Linked DNA regions of Homo sapiens: all the other regions are linked to region 4. The links are contacts of gene promoters, found by promoter capture Hi-C in blood cells and fetal thymus (Javierre and others, 2016). All regions are on one chromosome and are shown on one strand. Each heading gives the region's core, a stretch centred on a gene start or on the middle of the fragment in contact. The rest is flanking DNA. Distances are from core to core; before and after follow the strand shown.

Region 1 (3,687 bases), core at 1,160-3,659, 680 kb after region 4:
AAAACACTAGAAAGTTCAGAGAGATCAGTTAAAAAGCTATCAGTATGCCAATTATATATAAGCATTCCCTTCCTTCTTGCTAGTAAGCCATTATCAAAAAATTAATGAAAAACGTAGTTTCGGCCAGCCAGGAAAGCAAACAGTATATAACAAGATGGAAAATCCTAAGATTTTGGAAGAAACAAAATATTTTCCCACAATTGCAAAAGTAGAGAATAGATCACCAAATGCTTATCTCTTACTCTGAGTGTTTCCACAATACTCTATGATTGATTAATGAACAGTTTTTCATCAGGCAATGATTCTGTCCTTAAGCTTGATTTTGCCCATTTGTTGTCCATTCCACATTGTTCTTTTAATCATCTGCTTAGGTCTTCTACAGTAAGCAAGCAAGACAATGCTGAGATGGCACTAAGTACCATACCTGTGAGGCCAAGATTGCTACTGGCATACCCAGTGCTCTGCACCCATGTAACTAGCACTACTAGCCTTGGCAGCCATCTTGAAAATGATGCCCGGCTTACAAGGGAGCCCATGGAATACAGTGCGTCTACTGCACGTTACCACCACCACTCCTACAAACAACCCGAAGGGTAAGTCCTAAAGACGTGTCTGCAGCTTTGCCTTCAAACAGGAAGAAAAATGTCAAGTTACCAGTGACTATGGCCACTCTAATAAGCTACAGCCAGGGATCTAACAGAAATCGACTTAACCAGTTATGATTCTAGGACAAGGAAGAATGAAAAATAAGAACGGAAGAAGGAAAAAAAACCACTTTCTTGTAAATATATTATTTACTGGATGAGCAAATAAAAACAGTTCTCTCTGGTCAAAGCTGTGCTAAGACAAAATTTATCTCAGGTATTAAAATGAAACGTGAAACAAAGGCAATACAACCTCTCGGTAAAGATGACAAAACCTCATATAGTCAAATCCTCTTACCCTAAAACGTTAACAATGTATAAATATCCGATGTCAGTGGATCACATTCTCAAATACCGAGTTCAATAAAGTAGAAAAAGATGACAAGGATAAAAATGTACTGGACCGTAGTTTCCCGTTTACCCTGTTAAGGAATGGCTCATTCACTCCGCTTGCCTTTTGAATTGCTTTGTACTGTGACGAAGCCTTTTAAGTTAGCTTCAAATTAATATTTAGCTGCAAAACAAAGGCATTCTCTAGATCCACTAATCCCTAATCAAGGAAAACAACAACAACAAAAAATCATACTAATACACCAGAGGTAGTAAACGCCTTTCAGAACAGAGCTGTGGATTGGGGCTTCCCAAGCCCCGAGAAGCCGACAGAGCAGGAAGCAAGCAAGAAGGTGGGATGGAGGCTTCAGAGCCCGGCAGCTCACCTGTTGATGAAACCATATCCGTTCCTTACATTGAACCATTTTACTGTTCCCAAAACCTTCGTTGCTGGAAAAGAAAACAAAGCAAAACAAGCCACGATTACCAGCTATCCTTTTCCAAATCCGCCCGGCTTGGGCATCCGGTCCCTCGCACGCCGGCCGCCGCGGCCACCTGACAGCCCTTTCTCTCCACCGCCCGGGTGCGGGGCCACGCAGTCGCCGCCGCCGCCGCACACGTGGGTGAGTCTGAAGCGCGGGGCGCTCCAGGGCAGGCCCGGGGCGCGGGCCCCAGGATGGGTGTGTGCGCAGGCCGCGGACGGAGAGCACGTGAGGGAAGGGGAAGCCGCTCCGGCCTGCGTAGGCGGTGCGCCGCGCCCTCCGAGCACACGCGGAAGGGAGCTGGGTGGGGGTGACGCGAACAACGGCGTGCGGGCCCGAGCGCACGAGGCCGGTCGGCGGGGAGGGGACCCCGTCGCACACGCGGTCGGCGGCGCGCGGCCGCAGGGGGAGGGGCGCGCGGCCGCGCGGGGTCCACAGGGGGCGCGGGAGGCAGTGCGCGCGCGCCTGCCGGGCGGGTCCCCGCGAGAGGGAGTGAGGGGGGGACGGGGGGGATGGGCGGCCGCGCGCCGCGGAGTCGGTGCCCACCGGCCGCGCGCCCGCCGGCTCGCCCAGCTCCGGCTAACGGTTCCGCTGCTGGGCTGCCCGAGGGCCCCACCCCCGTCCCTGTCCGGTCCTCACCGATGACCTTCTTGTCCCCGCCGGCAGGCGCCGCCGATGTGAGGCCGCCCGGGCCACCGCTCCCTGCGCCGCTGCCCGTAGTGCCGGGCTTGGTGTCGGCGGCGCTGAGGGCGGGGGCGGCGGGGGGGGCGGCGGGCGGCTGCTGGGTCTCGGCCTCGCTGCTCATGGTTGCGGTGATGGTGACTGGGGCCGGCTGCGGCAGCTGCGGCTCCTCCCGGGGTGTGATGGTAACTAGGCCGGCGGCGGCGGTGGGGCTGCTCAGGGCTCTCTGGGGTCCGCTCTCCGCTCCCGCTACCGATCGAACTAGCGAGAATGGCGGGACAGGCGGGATAAGCCCTACGAGCGACCCGCCCTAGGCGTTGTTCACTGGCCAGTGGTACTGTCAATCTGCCCACCTGACCCCAATCCCTAGCTTCTATTGGCTAATATTTTATCAGTCCTCCATTCTCATTGGACCTTTGGCGGCTAATTCAGTCGACCTACAACCGTTCCTGCCTCCGCCGGCCGCCATAGAGACCGGAACTAGAATTAGAGTAGTCGGCCACGAAAACCATAGAGTACCCGAGAGGACGGGCAGAAGGAACGTGACTTCCACGAGGCAGCCGCCGGGCTGGCGGGCCCCACGTTCAGGGTTGTGTCTCGGCTGAAAAAAAGGCACGCCCGAACGCTGGGCAGGGATTACCCGGCCGGACCCGGGATTGGAAGGGGGCTCGAAGACGCCTTAGCCCCCCGTGAAGAAAAGGCTTCCCTCCCTCCCAGCTCCAAATACGGTCCCTGTGATCTGAGAACATTACGGCGGGCATAGAGTCGTCTTTTCTTTAATGGCCGTGTAGTCGCGGCACAGCCGAGGGTTTCTGGAATTGCCTTAAACGTATGCGTTTGAAGAGCGTACCCTTTTGTCGGAGCAGTCACCTTGGAGGGACCACGCAGGCTATGGCAGCCCGGGTTCAGCATGTTTAGGGCGAGGGTGTGCTCCATGGGGACCTGCCTTCTGATCCGTTTTACCAGGCATATATTTAAAAAAATGTGTCTTCCTTTCCAAGTATTCACATCTTTTTCTACTGACCACAAATCAGATTTAATTCAACTCACATTTATTGAACAAGCTAGCCTGTTTTGTTTTTTCACTTTATTCCTGCAACAGCCACGTGATAGAGGGATTACTATCCACGTTTCACAAACGATAAAATTGAGGCTGCCACCTGATGTTACTGAAGTCCTCCACCCACCTTCTTTCGTTCTTTTTTAAGCGTCTACTATCGGCTGGGGATGGAATAGTTCGCGAGTCAGTTTCTGCCTTCTGATGGAGGCAGAAATTTAAACAGCCAACACGGTAAATACTCCAGAGCTGCAAAACCACGAAGTATTTTGGGAGTGGAAGCAGGGAGAAGGTGGAGGGCTGACTTTCCGCGCACAGGGTACAGGCGAGAAGAGGTGAGATCTCGGGAAATGCAGTCAAGTAGTTCAGTAAGACTCGAATGTGACATTGGGTTGCAGAGGTGGGCAGTCACTTAGGTATATTTAATTGGAAATATATCCTGAGGGGAAGAGTGAGAAGAGCAATTTTAGAGTCATAAGTAGGGAGGGGCATC
Region 2 (3,723 bases), core at 416-2,915, 700 kb after region 4:
CCACTTCACAGGAGTCTTACTGGGGATTAGAGACCCAAAGCTCTAAAGCTGTGATATAATTATGTGCTAACATTGTTACTAACCACAGTGAGGCCATGAGAAAGATTCTATATTGAAATGAGACTAAGTGTTGACATACTCCACTCCCCAGGAAATATGATTATCCTTGGACAATCATATATGATCATTTTAGGAATTAGTTATAAATATCAACCAGCAGGATATATTATATGCACTTTAGGATTACAAGTGTACTTTTTAAAAAATCTGCATTCGCACAAACAAGTGCATGAAAAAGACAAGATATTGTAAAGATGAGTAGTTTCTGTTTTAAAGACCTAAGAAGTGGGGGAGTGTAAGTAGAGTTAGAACATTTAATAAATCTTCAGTTGTTGAGTCCACAAAAACATTTCTTCTCAAGAAATGTAAGAATTACCCTCTGGTTTTATTTTCCTCTAAAGAGCCTAATCCCCCAGGAAATATTTCTGAAAGACTCCAGGATGGCTTGCCAAGAGCCTTACCTGTGGAAGGTGCTTCCTTTGTATCCTATTGGAACCCCATCTTTCCTATAACCGAAAAGAAAGAGACTTGGAGTGACAGCAGGTAGCACAAGGCCTTTCCAGTTTACCATGCACTGGAGCCAAAAGGACTCTCCTAAAGATGGTTGACAGACATAAAGAAGGCAAATAAACTAGGGACAGACCCTTGGGGCATTACCTTCTATCACTGTCACCAGCAATCATTCAAGGCCAGCAGGTGGTTCACCGATACCCTCACTGCAGCCCCAGAACACCCCTCTGGAGCAGGCAAAGAAGTCAAACACATCTGAAACTGACCTGAATTCTCCGGTGCAGAACTGCCTGAAAGGGACAAAAAATGAATGATTCAATCACTATGATGTCACAGTCGTGAGCGCCTCTAAATACGGGAAAGAATAAACACTGGAGCCAGCAAGTCCACCAATCGGCCAGCCAGACGTCCAGACACGCAGTCACACAGACTAACAACGTAAATTAACACGGGAACAATCCAAACGGCAACCAGACAGAGCAATGCATGGAGGAATCAGGTCTCAAGAGCAGTGAGCGGACGGACAGAGGTAGACAGGCTATTTCAGGCGGCTGACTGGAGCCCGACTTCTGCCTCAGCTAATCCAGCGGAGCTGGAGCACGTCCTTACCTAAAGTTCTCGGCCGTCTTAGGCACAACGTCTGCAAAGAGCTCGATCTTCATGCGGCCAACTTCCTGCAATCAGCGGGAGAGTGTCAGAAGGCCCAGTCCAAGACCATGAGGGCTTCACGGAGCAGGGGGCATGATGGGCTGACCCACCACCCTGCCGCTCGGTATCTCCCACCTCCGCCTCCCTAGTCTAACCGCCCAGTTCCTCCAGAAGCGGGGCGCTAGGATTGGGGAGACTCCTCCTCCTCCTTTCCCCCCGCCCGGCAGGTCGGTAGGTTCGGGTGCAATTTCACTTTCTGGCTGGCTTCCCGAGTCCGCTCTCTCTGGGTGAGTTCTGCCTGCCTAGCCCCGAGCAGTTTCCCTTCGGCGCAGGTGTGGGCAGCCTCCTGGATCTCACCTGACCGCCAATACTGACATCAAAGAACACCACGGGGTTAACAGGACTTGAATTTGCCACCGCCATGGCTCCGACCCGGAAGCAGAAGTCGGGAGCGTGGGATTCCGGCGAACCTAAAGCCCGGTCCGCGGATTTCGTCCGGGGAGCAGGCGCGGTAGACGTGGAGCGAGACCAGGCTCCGCCCCCGGAAGCTGTCGCCCCGTGCGGTGTGTGCTGAGACTGCTAGGGTCTAGCTGAGAGACTCTGCCTGGCACTGGGGACGCGGGAGTGAGGAGGAGGAAAGCCTTGACATCTTTTTGGTTAAGGTCAATGGTCACCCCACTCACGTGGCTGTACTAAGGGCAGTACAAGTTGATCTTGCTCTAGCTAGGACTTTTGGACTAGGCAGTCGCCAGGGTCCTCCTTATCGGCTCTTGCAGCCAAGCCCTCTGCACCGCCACACGTGCTGTCTGTCTTCTGCCCGCTAGTGTGAACACCGTGAAGGCAGGAACTCTGGTTTGTTCATCCTCAGCGTTTAGAACAGCTTGGCACGTACAGGCTTGCTAAGTAAATATCCCTTCCTCTAAGTCAGGACAATAGATAATGTTTGTTCTGCCACAAAAGCTACCAGTTTTGTCATTTCCAATTCATTTCCCATAAAGCAACTAGAGTTTTTTATTTTTTATTTTTAAAATAACTCTTGTGCTTCCTATTTATTTTAAAAATAACTCCTGGCTTCCCATATTTAGAATAAAATCCAATTCCGTGCATACGAAGCCCTACAGTGCATTTATCTGGCTATCACGTACCTGACCTCATCTTGTACCACTTGCCCTTAGTTACTGTGCTCTGACCTGTCTGTTCCTCCAGGTCACTGAGATCCCTCCTCTCTTTAGGGCTTTGTAATAGCTGTTACTTCTGTCTGAAATATTCCTTCCAGAACTTAATGTGGGTTGGCGGGGGATTGTGGGGGTTGGTTGGGGTATGCGTGTGGGAAGTAATGCTCCTTGTAGTTCAGGGCTCACCCCAGATGTTACCTCCTGAGAGGCAACATTAGACCTAATCTAAAGTAGCCCTTGGTCATTCAGATCACTGGTTTGTTTTCTTCATGCCACCCCCACTTCCACATTATCTTCGTATGGTATGTGTCTACACCTCATTTCCTGCCACACACACATAATCTTCCTCCCTGATAGCATATAAACTCCATGAAAGTAGAGACTCTCCTGGTCCTATTCGCAGCTGTAGCTGCAATGTCGCCTACTGAATAGCATATAGTAGGTATTCAATAAATAATAGATGCAATGAATTTAGTGAAAGAAGGGGACCTTGGGCAAGGCTCATTCAATATAACAGCATGCATTTAATAAAATAGTTATTATTTCCTAGTTCCTATGATCATCTTTCTAGCTCTGTTGTCTGAGAAAGCAAGGATTACATATAAAAATACAGTGTGTCTCAATGTAAAGGGTCATTTTTATTTCTGGTTACTGATCCTCTCCTCTTGGTCTCCTCCAACTGAAAAAGAAGAAAGGGGAGGAGGGGGAAAAGGAACAGCAGCAGTCACGCTTCAGTATAATTTTATACCAACTGTTTTAGAATAAATCTTTAAAATTGATAATATCCAATGTTGATGAGGTTGTGAAAAAAATAGTACATTGATAAACCTCTAGTGAAAATAAATGATGATAGCATTTATTAAGCAGTTACTACGTGCTAAATACTTTACATGCTTCATTTCATTTGGTCCTCACAACCCTATGGGATAGAGAACTATTATTGTTCCCATTTTAGGAATCAAGAAATTGAGGCTCAAGGAGGTTGAGTAACTTGACTATGAAAACAGTATGTTGACACACTTTTTATTTATTTTATTATTTATGTATTTATTATTATTATTTTTTGAGACAGAGTCTCACTTTTTGCCCAGGCTGGAGTACAGTGGAGTGGTCTCAGCTCACTGAAACTTCTACCTCTTGGGTTCAGGTGATTCTCGAGCCTCAGCCTCCCGCATAGCAGGGACTACAGGTGTGCACCACCATACCCGGCTAATTTTTGTATTTTTAGTAGAGACAGGGCTTTGCCATGTTGGCCTGGCTGGTCTTGAACTCCTGGCCTCAAGTGATCCACCTGCCTCGGCCTCCCAAAATGCTGGGATTATAGGCGTGA
Region 3 (3,480 bases), core at 43-2,542, 900 kb after region 4:
GGCATTTCAGAGACAGGAACATAGAAATCTGACACAGCCGCAGCCAGGTAAAACATCGCAGAAGGGCCTGCAAAGAGAAACACAAGGTGTTAACAAATCGGCGAGGTACGATATAGGATCAGCTCCTTCTCAACTCGGGTTCCCCAGCTGAGATCCGTGGGTAAGCAGGAGGTAAGGGGATAAGTGGCTGGAAAGAAAGGCTGTGCTTCCAGGCAAAAGGGGTACTCCTAGGGCACGCACCTAGCGGATTGAGTGCCTGGGCCGCAGCCTGCAACAGATGCAAATAGTCCGCCAAAGTGGTGAACTCTACTGCCAGGAAGGTGCCTGCAGCCGCAGCCTCCTGGTAGCTCCTCAGAGCCTCAGCAAAACCCGGAAGTGCATTCTCCTCGGCCTCCAGGCTCAGCAAGCCCGAAAGGGCTGGGCCCGAAGGCCGCAGAGCGGACAGCCAAGTCTGGGGTGGGAAGCGGTGGGCATAGGGGAAGGCAGAGCGAGCGCGATACAAGAACAGGACCCCGTAGCCGGCGGCTAGGAAGGCCTCGGCCGAGGTTGCACCGCGCCGCCCGCTGCTGAAGTTGTCCAGGAAGCGCACCGGCCGCGCTTCCAGTGGGACCTTGGTGCCGCCTGACGTAACCAACACCACCCGCCGGCCCTGCGCGCCCAGCCTGGCCGCGAAGCGAGCCATAACCTCAGCCCAGCGCGCAGCACCGGGAGGCTGGGGGAACTCGGCTACCGGATCCATTTCCGCCATCTGCAGCGCAGCGGCCGGCGCCTGCGCACGTTTCGCGGCCGCCGCGCCACGCCCCTTCTCGCCTACCTGGTGTACGCGCCGCGCCGTACTGAGTGGGCGGTTCACTACCCTTCTTTTGACACTAGGTCCCGATCTCGCCAAGTCTGGAAATGCGTAGTTGTTCTGCCCCAGAGCCCAGCGAAAGTGACACTGCAACGAGGGGGATCCCCGGCTGGGTGGGCATCTGGTAGGGTCACGTTCCCTCACGTTCGTTTCCTAGCCTGGGTGAAGAACTGGCCATGTTTGACCCTTACCGGCCACTGTACGGGCCTTTCTGGACTTGGACTCCTTGGGAGTCGTTTCTCGGCCATTTGACCCGTGGGACTTGTGGGTTTTGTGCTGCTTTTTCTTTCTTTCTTCCCCTTTTCCAACTTCAGCAATACACCCAGATGTTAGTCGAGTCACGTCCCGCCGCCCTCTGCCCTTGAAATGCTGGCAAGTACGCAGCCCCGCGATCGTCACGTGACGCCGGGGTTCAGCGTATCCTTGCTGGGCAACCGTCTTAGAGACCAGCACTGCTGGCTGCACCATGAATGTGATCTACCCACTGGCAGTCCCCAAGGGGCGCAGACTCTGCTGTGAGGTGTGCGAAGCCCCAGCCGAGCGGGTGTGCGCGGCCTGCACAGTCACTTATTACTGGTAGGCCCTGAAACGTGGCACCTGGGCGCTATAACTCCCTCCCTCTCTCCCTTTCCCGGGTCTGGCTTGGGTACCTTGCGTTAGCCGTTGCCCCTGACTCTGCAAGGGACACCTCAAAACGGCTTTAAGACAGGCCCCTAAGACTCCCGTGGCCTCGTCTGTCTCATCTCCCACTTATTCGTCACTCATGTTTTCTGAAGGCGTACTCTGTGTTATGCACTATTTTAGGTGCTAAAGTTACTGGGGCAGCTCGGTAGATCAGTTCCTTCAAAGATCTAACATTCCAATGTGGGAGACAAATCAGTAAAGAAACAGGCCGGGCGCGGTGGCTCACGCCTGTAATCCCAGCACTTCGGGAGGCCGAGGCGGGCGGATCGCCTGAGGTCAGGAGTTCGAGACCAGCCTGGCCAACATGGTGAAACCCTGTCTCTACTAAAAAATACAAAAATTAGGCGGGAGTGGTGCTGGGCGCCTGTAATCCCAGCTACTCGGGAGGCTGAAGCAGAAGAATCGCTTGAACCCGGGAGGCGGAGCTCGCAGTGAGCGGAGATCGCGCCACTGCACTCCAGCTTGGGCAACGAGAGTGAGACGATAGTGAATGGGGCAGTATGTGGAAAGCTTTCCCTGTGGAAGAAACATTTGAGCTGCATTTTGAGAGGGCAGTCAGAACCTGCTGTGTACAGGAGTAGTGAAGAAGGGTAGGGCATTCCCGGCATCCGGGACTGCTAGGGCAAATGGCAAAAGAACAGAGTTTGCTAAGGGCCGAGTGGAGAACGTAGTAGTGGAGGGAGCAGTCAGTGATTTTCAAACTGCAGGCCAGGGCCCTTTAGCAGTTTATGAATAAGTCACAATCACCATTTAGAGAAAACAACAACAACAAAAAAGAGCACAGAATGAGTAGAAAGTATCAGGTTAATCCTACCTGAATTGTTTCTTAAAACTTTTGTCTTAGTGTTTTATGTGGACATGTGTGTGTGTACAGGAAAAATGTATTTCTTACTATAGGTTGAGTCAAAATTAGCCGGATGTGGTGGCGTGCACCTGTAATCCTAGCTACTCGGGAGGCTGAAGCAGGAGAATCGTTTGAACCCGGGAGGCGGAGGTTGCAGTGAGCCGAGATCGCTCCATTGCACTCCAGCTTGGGCAACAAGAGTGAAACTGTGTCTCAAAAAAAAAAAAAAAAGTTGGAACATCATTGTGATAGGTAGTAGAAGTTTAAACCAAGAAGATAAAGGTTAGGGCTAGACAGTGACATGAGATCAAGGGTTTGGAATTTATCTCCTGGGAAACCATGAATGGTTTTGAGCTGACATGCTCTCATTTGTGTTAAGGAAAGAGGATGGGCTGCAGTGTGGCAGATACAGAGGAAGGTAGACACTGACGGCTGCATAACAGATCAAGAAGCTGTTGCAGTACCTTCTCATACTGGCCTAGGTGTCCTTCCTCAGTGCTCTCAAAGCACTGAGTATGTCCCCTATCCTAACACTTAGGACATGGACTGAAATCATTTATTTATTTCTTTCATTAGGCTGTATGCCCCACAAGGGCAGGGATGGTATCTGTGTTTTCATTGCTATCTCCTCTTTGGTGGCTTCCTTGCCTTTAGAATATAATTAAGAATTTGTAACAGAAAATACAAGGCCCTGGTTATTTCTCTACCTTCACTTCCCACCACACTCACCCCATTTTTTCTTTGCTGTAGTTATAGAGAACTGAAGTTCTAATTTGCTAAGCCCTTTCTTCCCTCAGTTTCTTTTCCCAGTCTGTTCTCTCTGCTAGGAACCTCCCCTTCAACTACAAGCCTTCCTGGCTCCCTTTCATCCTTCAGTTCTCAGTTTAAATGTCATTTCTTCAAAGAGGTCTAAACCCAGTCTCAACTCCCCGTCATACTTTTCTCTCTCACAGTACCATTTTTCTTTGCTTTTTCTGTACTTTTATATTATTGTGTTTGCTTGTCTGATGTCTATGTCTTTTACTAGACCCAGTGGCCACACATACCAGACACTCAATGAACATCTGTTGAATAAAACTAAATGGATAATAAACCCATTAAC
Region 4 (3,657 bases), core at 1-2,500:
CTCAGGAGGAAGCTGGCCACCTCCATCTGGGCAGCACTGCGATGGGGGATATAGCGGTCACCGCCAGGTTTGCTAGGAGTGGTCTGAACCTTGGAACTGGATTTGCCTGGGGCGGAGAAAGAGAAGACAGTCTGACCAGGCTCCCCAGGGAGAAAGTATGAAGGCTGCTCTCACTCAGTTCCTTTGGCACCTCACTGACCAGGAGTTCGGCCCGGAGTCCTGCCGGCGCTGTGGGATCGGTTGGCGGCCCGCATGGGTGAGGGGGCCGGGCCTGCGGCTTCCTTGGCTTTGCGCTGCCAGCGCGCAGGGGGTGCATTGGGGATGGGTGCATCCAGCTGAAGCAGCGAGTGCAGGTCACTCTCGAACGCGAACTGTGCCATGGGAGCGCCCGCAGGGGGAGGGGTCCTTGCAGTTGGTGCCTACGGAGCCCTGGAGGAAAGGAGGCGACGGTGCTCAGGGGACAGAAAGGGACCCCTTCGCTCCTGGCCGGCCACAAAATCAGGGCCACCCTCGGCTGCAGCCCCTTCCGGCCTAGCACCCCCTCCCCCTGGCCACGGCCCCACCTCGGCTCAGCCCCACCACCTCTCACCGTGCCCTCCGGAGCAGTTCCGACCGGCTTTAACACGCCTGGCTTACGCCTCTTAAACTCTCCGCTCCGAGCGCCTATTGGCTCCTTCAAAATCCAACCGTCGCAACCGTTGCCCTAGCCCATTGGCCTCTCCGGCGAAGGGGGCGGGCCTTCCGGGGAAAGTCTCAGCTATCACGAGAGTCTAGCGGCGGAGCGCGATTTGAAGGGTACGAGAGGGGCTGGGAGCCGGCGCCAGAGGACTAGTACTGGAAAGCCGGCCGGGACAGGGCGGGGCAGGGCGGGGCCGGGTGGGGCCTGCGCTGCCTCAGCGTCCTGGAGTCGTCTCGGTTCGCCCTTTTGCGTGCCTTCCACCGCCGCGAGCTCGGAATGTCTGGCCCCGGGTGCTTCAGGGTCCGAGAACCTGCAGAAGTTCACACTTAAATCCTACACGAGAGTCGTATTTATGATGCAGAACTCGGTGCAGAACCCGATGGAGTGCCCAAGGCGCTTGAGCCGTTCCTAGAAGGGGAAGGAGAGCCGCGGGCGGCAGCGGGGCAGGGGACGGAATTGGGAAGCTTGGGAGCAGGAAGAAGGCCAGAGCTACTTAGGGTACATTCCACTTTTGCTTGGCGCCGGGTAGGAACCCTGCTAGAAAGGAAGTAACGTGTGTTTGTCTCGTTTGCTGTTGTTTTACAAACAGGGAAAATGAGGTTGAAAAGGGTGAATGAATTCCTTAAGGTCAAGAAAAAGGATCGGTATTCAAACCTGCCTATCTGGAAGATAAGCTTAGACTGCCCTACAGGAGGCACTGTGGCTTATCCCCTTGGGGCTTTAAAGATGTGAGGACCTTAGAGATCCATTAGTCTAACCTGTGCGTGGTGCAGCCTCCCCACCCCGACAACAAATCCATATTTTACAGATGGAGAAACGGAGGCCCAGGGAAGGGATGTGCCCGAGGTCATACAAAGAAGTTTGTGGGAATCCAGGTCTGACTCGCACTCAATCTAGTGCTCTAATAATGACTTGAGTGAATTGTATGAATGTGCTCAGAGGTGGAGCAGCAATCATAAAAGTAATAATGGTACCATTTATGGACCATCTAACTACTGTGTTAAAACAATTTACAGGCCATGCGCGGTGGCTCACGCTTGTAATCCCAGCACTTTGGGAGGCCGAGGCGGGCAGATCACGAAGTCAGAAGATCGAGACCATCCTGGCTAACACGGTGAAACCCCGTCTTTACTAAAAATACAAAAAATTAGCCGGGCTTGGTGGCGGGCGCCTGTAGTTCCAGCTACTCGAGAGGCTGAGGCAGGAGAATGGCGTGAACCCGGGAGGCGGAGCTTGCAGTGAGCCGAGATCGAGCCACTGCACTCCAGCCTGGGCAACAGAGCGATACTCTGTCTGAAAAAAAAAAAAAAAGTTTACATACATTATCGAGTTCAATCCTTAATCCCATAAGGCAGATAGATACCCCATCTTCCCTTTACAGAAAAAAGAAACTGGGTCAGAAAGATTAGAAACTTGCCCAAAGGCATGCAGCCAATAATAAGTAGGGGAGCCCAGGATTCAAACTATCTGACTAATCCCTGCAATCTAAACAATACGCTATACTGTCCCAGAAAGAGGCTGGAAAAATCATTTTCAGTCATTAGCTTAAAGTCCACTCCGATGCTTACAGATAATGTTATTATCTTTGACTTGAAGCCTTTGCATTCTCTATTTCCAATTACCTTGGAAAATAAGGAATTGGATATGCTTAGGTTAGAGGTGGGGAATTCCCAGAAAACATAGAAAAGGTTGTCTCATGTCAAGTTGGTCAGGGTCTTAAATGTTAAGCTAAAGACTTTGGACTTCATCTGCTAGGCATTGTGGTACCTGTGGGGTTTCTGTGTAGGGAAGGACCAAATAAAACATCTGAGGGGGGGGATATGGCAATAATTTGCAACTTCTGGTGGTAGCTATAGAGAAGGATAAAGGGTATAGCCTCAGGGAATTTGTACATTTAAAAATAAAGGATTTGGGCAGGTTGTCATGGTTCACTCCTGTAATCCCAGCACTTTGGGAGGCCAAGGCGGGCAGATCACTTGAAGTCAGTAGTTCAAGACTAGTCGGGCCAATGTGGCGAAACCCTGTCTCTACTAGAAGTACAAAATTAGCCAGGTGTGGTGGTGCACACCTGTAATCCCAGCTACCTGGGAGGCTGAGGCAGGGGAATCGCTTGAACCTGGGAGGCGCAGGTTGTAGTGAGCGAGGTCGCGCCACTGCACTCTAGCCTGGGTGACAGAGGGAGACTTTGTCTCAAAATAATAATAATAATAAATGAATGAAGGAAGGCAATGGAAATTATCCAGACATGGATCTTGAAGTGGGAGATACCCTAATATATGTAGTCAAGTGGAATGATGACAGAAAGGGTCAGATTTGGCCATTGAAAATCAAATTACCGATGACTTTGGAGAGAGCAGGATCAGGAAAGTGGGTGCTTGAGATCCATTTTGGAGGAGTTGCGGAAAGAATGAAATAGGGAGAACGGGAAGCCGGCAAGTATAGGTGACTTGTGTAGCCCATCCCCTGATATCCTCTATATTCGTTTGCTAGAGTTACTGTAACAAAGTACCACAAACTGGCTTAAATGACAGAAATTGGTTGTCTCACAATTCTGGAGGTTAGAAGTTCCAGATCAAGGTGTCATGAGAGTTGTGTGAGAACCGTGAGGAAGAATCTGTTCCATGCCTCTCTCCTGGCTTCTGGTGGTGGTTTGCCGGCAATCTTTGTCATTCCTTGGCTTATAGAAGAATCGCCCTGTTCTCTGCCTTCATCTTCACTTGGCTTTCTTTCTGTGTGTATGTGTGTCCAATTTTCTCTTTTTATAAGAATACCAATCATATTGAACTAGGGCCCTGACCTCATCTTAACTAATTATATCTGCAATGACCCTATTTCCTAATAAGGTCGTATTTGAAGTACTGGGAGTTAAGACTTCAACATCTGGCTGGGTGTGGTGGCTTACACTTGTAATCCCAGCACTTTGGAAGGCCAAGGCCAGAGGATTGCTTGAGCTCATGAGTTTGGGACCAGTCTGGGCA

What was found. Contacts are between HindIII fragments. The CHiCAGO score rates a contact against its expected background, and 5 or more counts as called.
Region 1: the fragment with the promoter of YBX1 here is called in contact with a fragment that was not itself captured in region 4 in 3 of 17 cell types (total B cells, fetal thymus and naive CD8 T cells); the score reaches 7.3 in total B cells.
Region 2: the fragment with the promoter of PPIH here is called in contact with a fragment that was not itself captured in region 4 in 1 of 17 cell types (total CD8 T cells); the score reaches 5.1 in total CD8 T cells.
Region 3: the fragment with the promoter of ZMYND12 here is called in contact with a fragment that was not itself captured in region 4 in 1 of 17 cell types (naive CD8 T cells); the score reaches 5.5 in naive CD8 T cells.

The regions. Positions count from the first base shown.
Region 1 is chr1:42,681,140-42,684,826 of GRCh38, reverse strand. YBX1 (Y-box binding protein 1) reads right to left here and starts at 2,409. Exons shown (of 8, transcript NM_004559.5): 1 at 2,096-2,409; 2 at 1,361-1,424. The coding sequence starts at 2,261. It also overlaps a transcript of PPIH not described here. RefSeq lists silencers at 1,504-1,653, 1,764-1,873, 2,064-2,263 and an enhancer at 2,704-2,753. The HindIII fragment of the contact is 3,657 bases long and covers 318-3,687 here.
Region 2 is chr1:42,656,365-42,660,087 of GRCh38, reverse strand. PPIH (peptidylprolyl isomerase H) reads right to left here and starts at 1,665. Exons shown (of 10, transcript NM_006347.4): 1 at 1,576-1,665; 2 at 1,180-1,244; 3 at 837-860; 4 at 522-566. The coding sequence starts at 1,641. CCDC30 (coiled-coil domain containing 30) reads right to left here. Exons shown (of 21, transcript NM_001395517.1): 21 at 2,898-3,723. All of the region lies in intron 1 of LOC124904162 (a long non-coding RNA gene), which reads left to right. The HindIII fragment of the contact is 5,565 bases long and covers 1-3,723 here.
Region 3 is chr1:42,453,834-42,457,313 of GRCh38, reverse strand. ZMYND12 (zinc finger MYND-type containing 12) reads left to right here and starts at 1,292. Exons shown (of 8, transcript NM_032257.5): 1 at 1,292-1,426. The coding sequence starts at 1,317. It overlaps PPCS (phosphopantothenoylcysteine synthetase), which reads right to left and starts at 771. Exons shown (of 3, transcript NM_024664.4): 1 at 241-771; 2 at 1-67. The coding sequence starts at 748. It also overlaps a transcript of CCDC30 not described here. RefSeq lists enhancers at 421-540, 631-700, 941-1,170. The HindIII fragment of the contact is 2,356 bases long and covers 1-2,046 here.
Region 4 is chr1:43,355,939-43,359,595 of GRCh38, reverse strand. It overlaps CDC20 (cell division cycle 20), which reads right to left and starts at 615. Exons shown (of 11, transcript NM_001255.3): 1 at 590-615; 2 at 200-429; 3 at 1-106. The coding sequence starts at 380. CDC20-DT (CDC20 divergent transcript) reads left to right here and starts at 923. Exons shown (of 4, transcript NR_183650.1): 1 at 923-1,046; 2 at 1,488-1,554; 3 at 1,696-1,793. RefSeq lists silencers at 427-576, 767-876 and enhancers at 319-827, 1,167-1,226, 1,338-1,846. The HindIII fragment of the contact is 210 bases long and covers 1,146-1,355 here.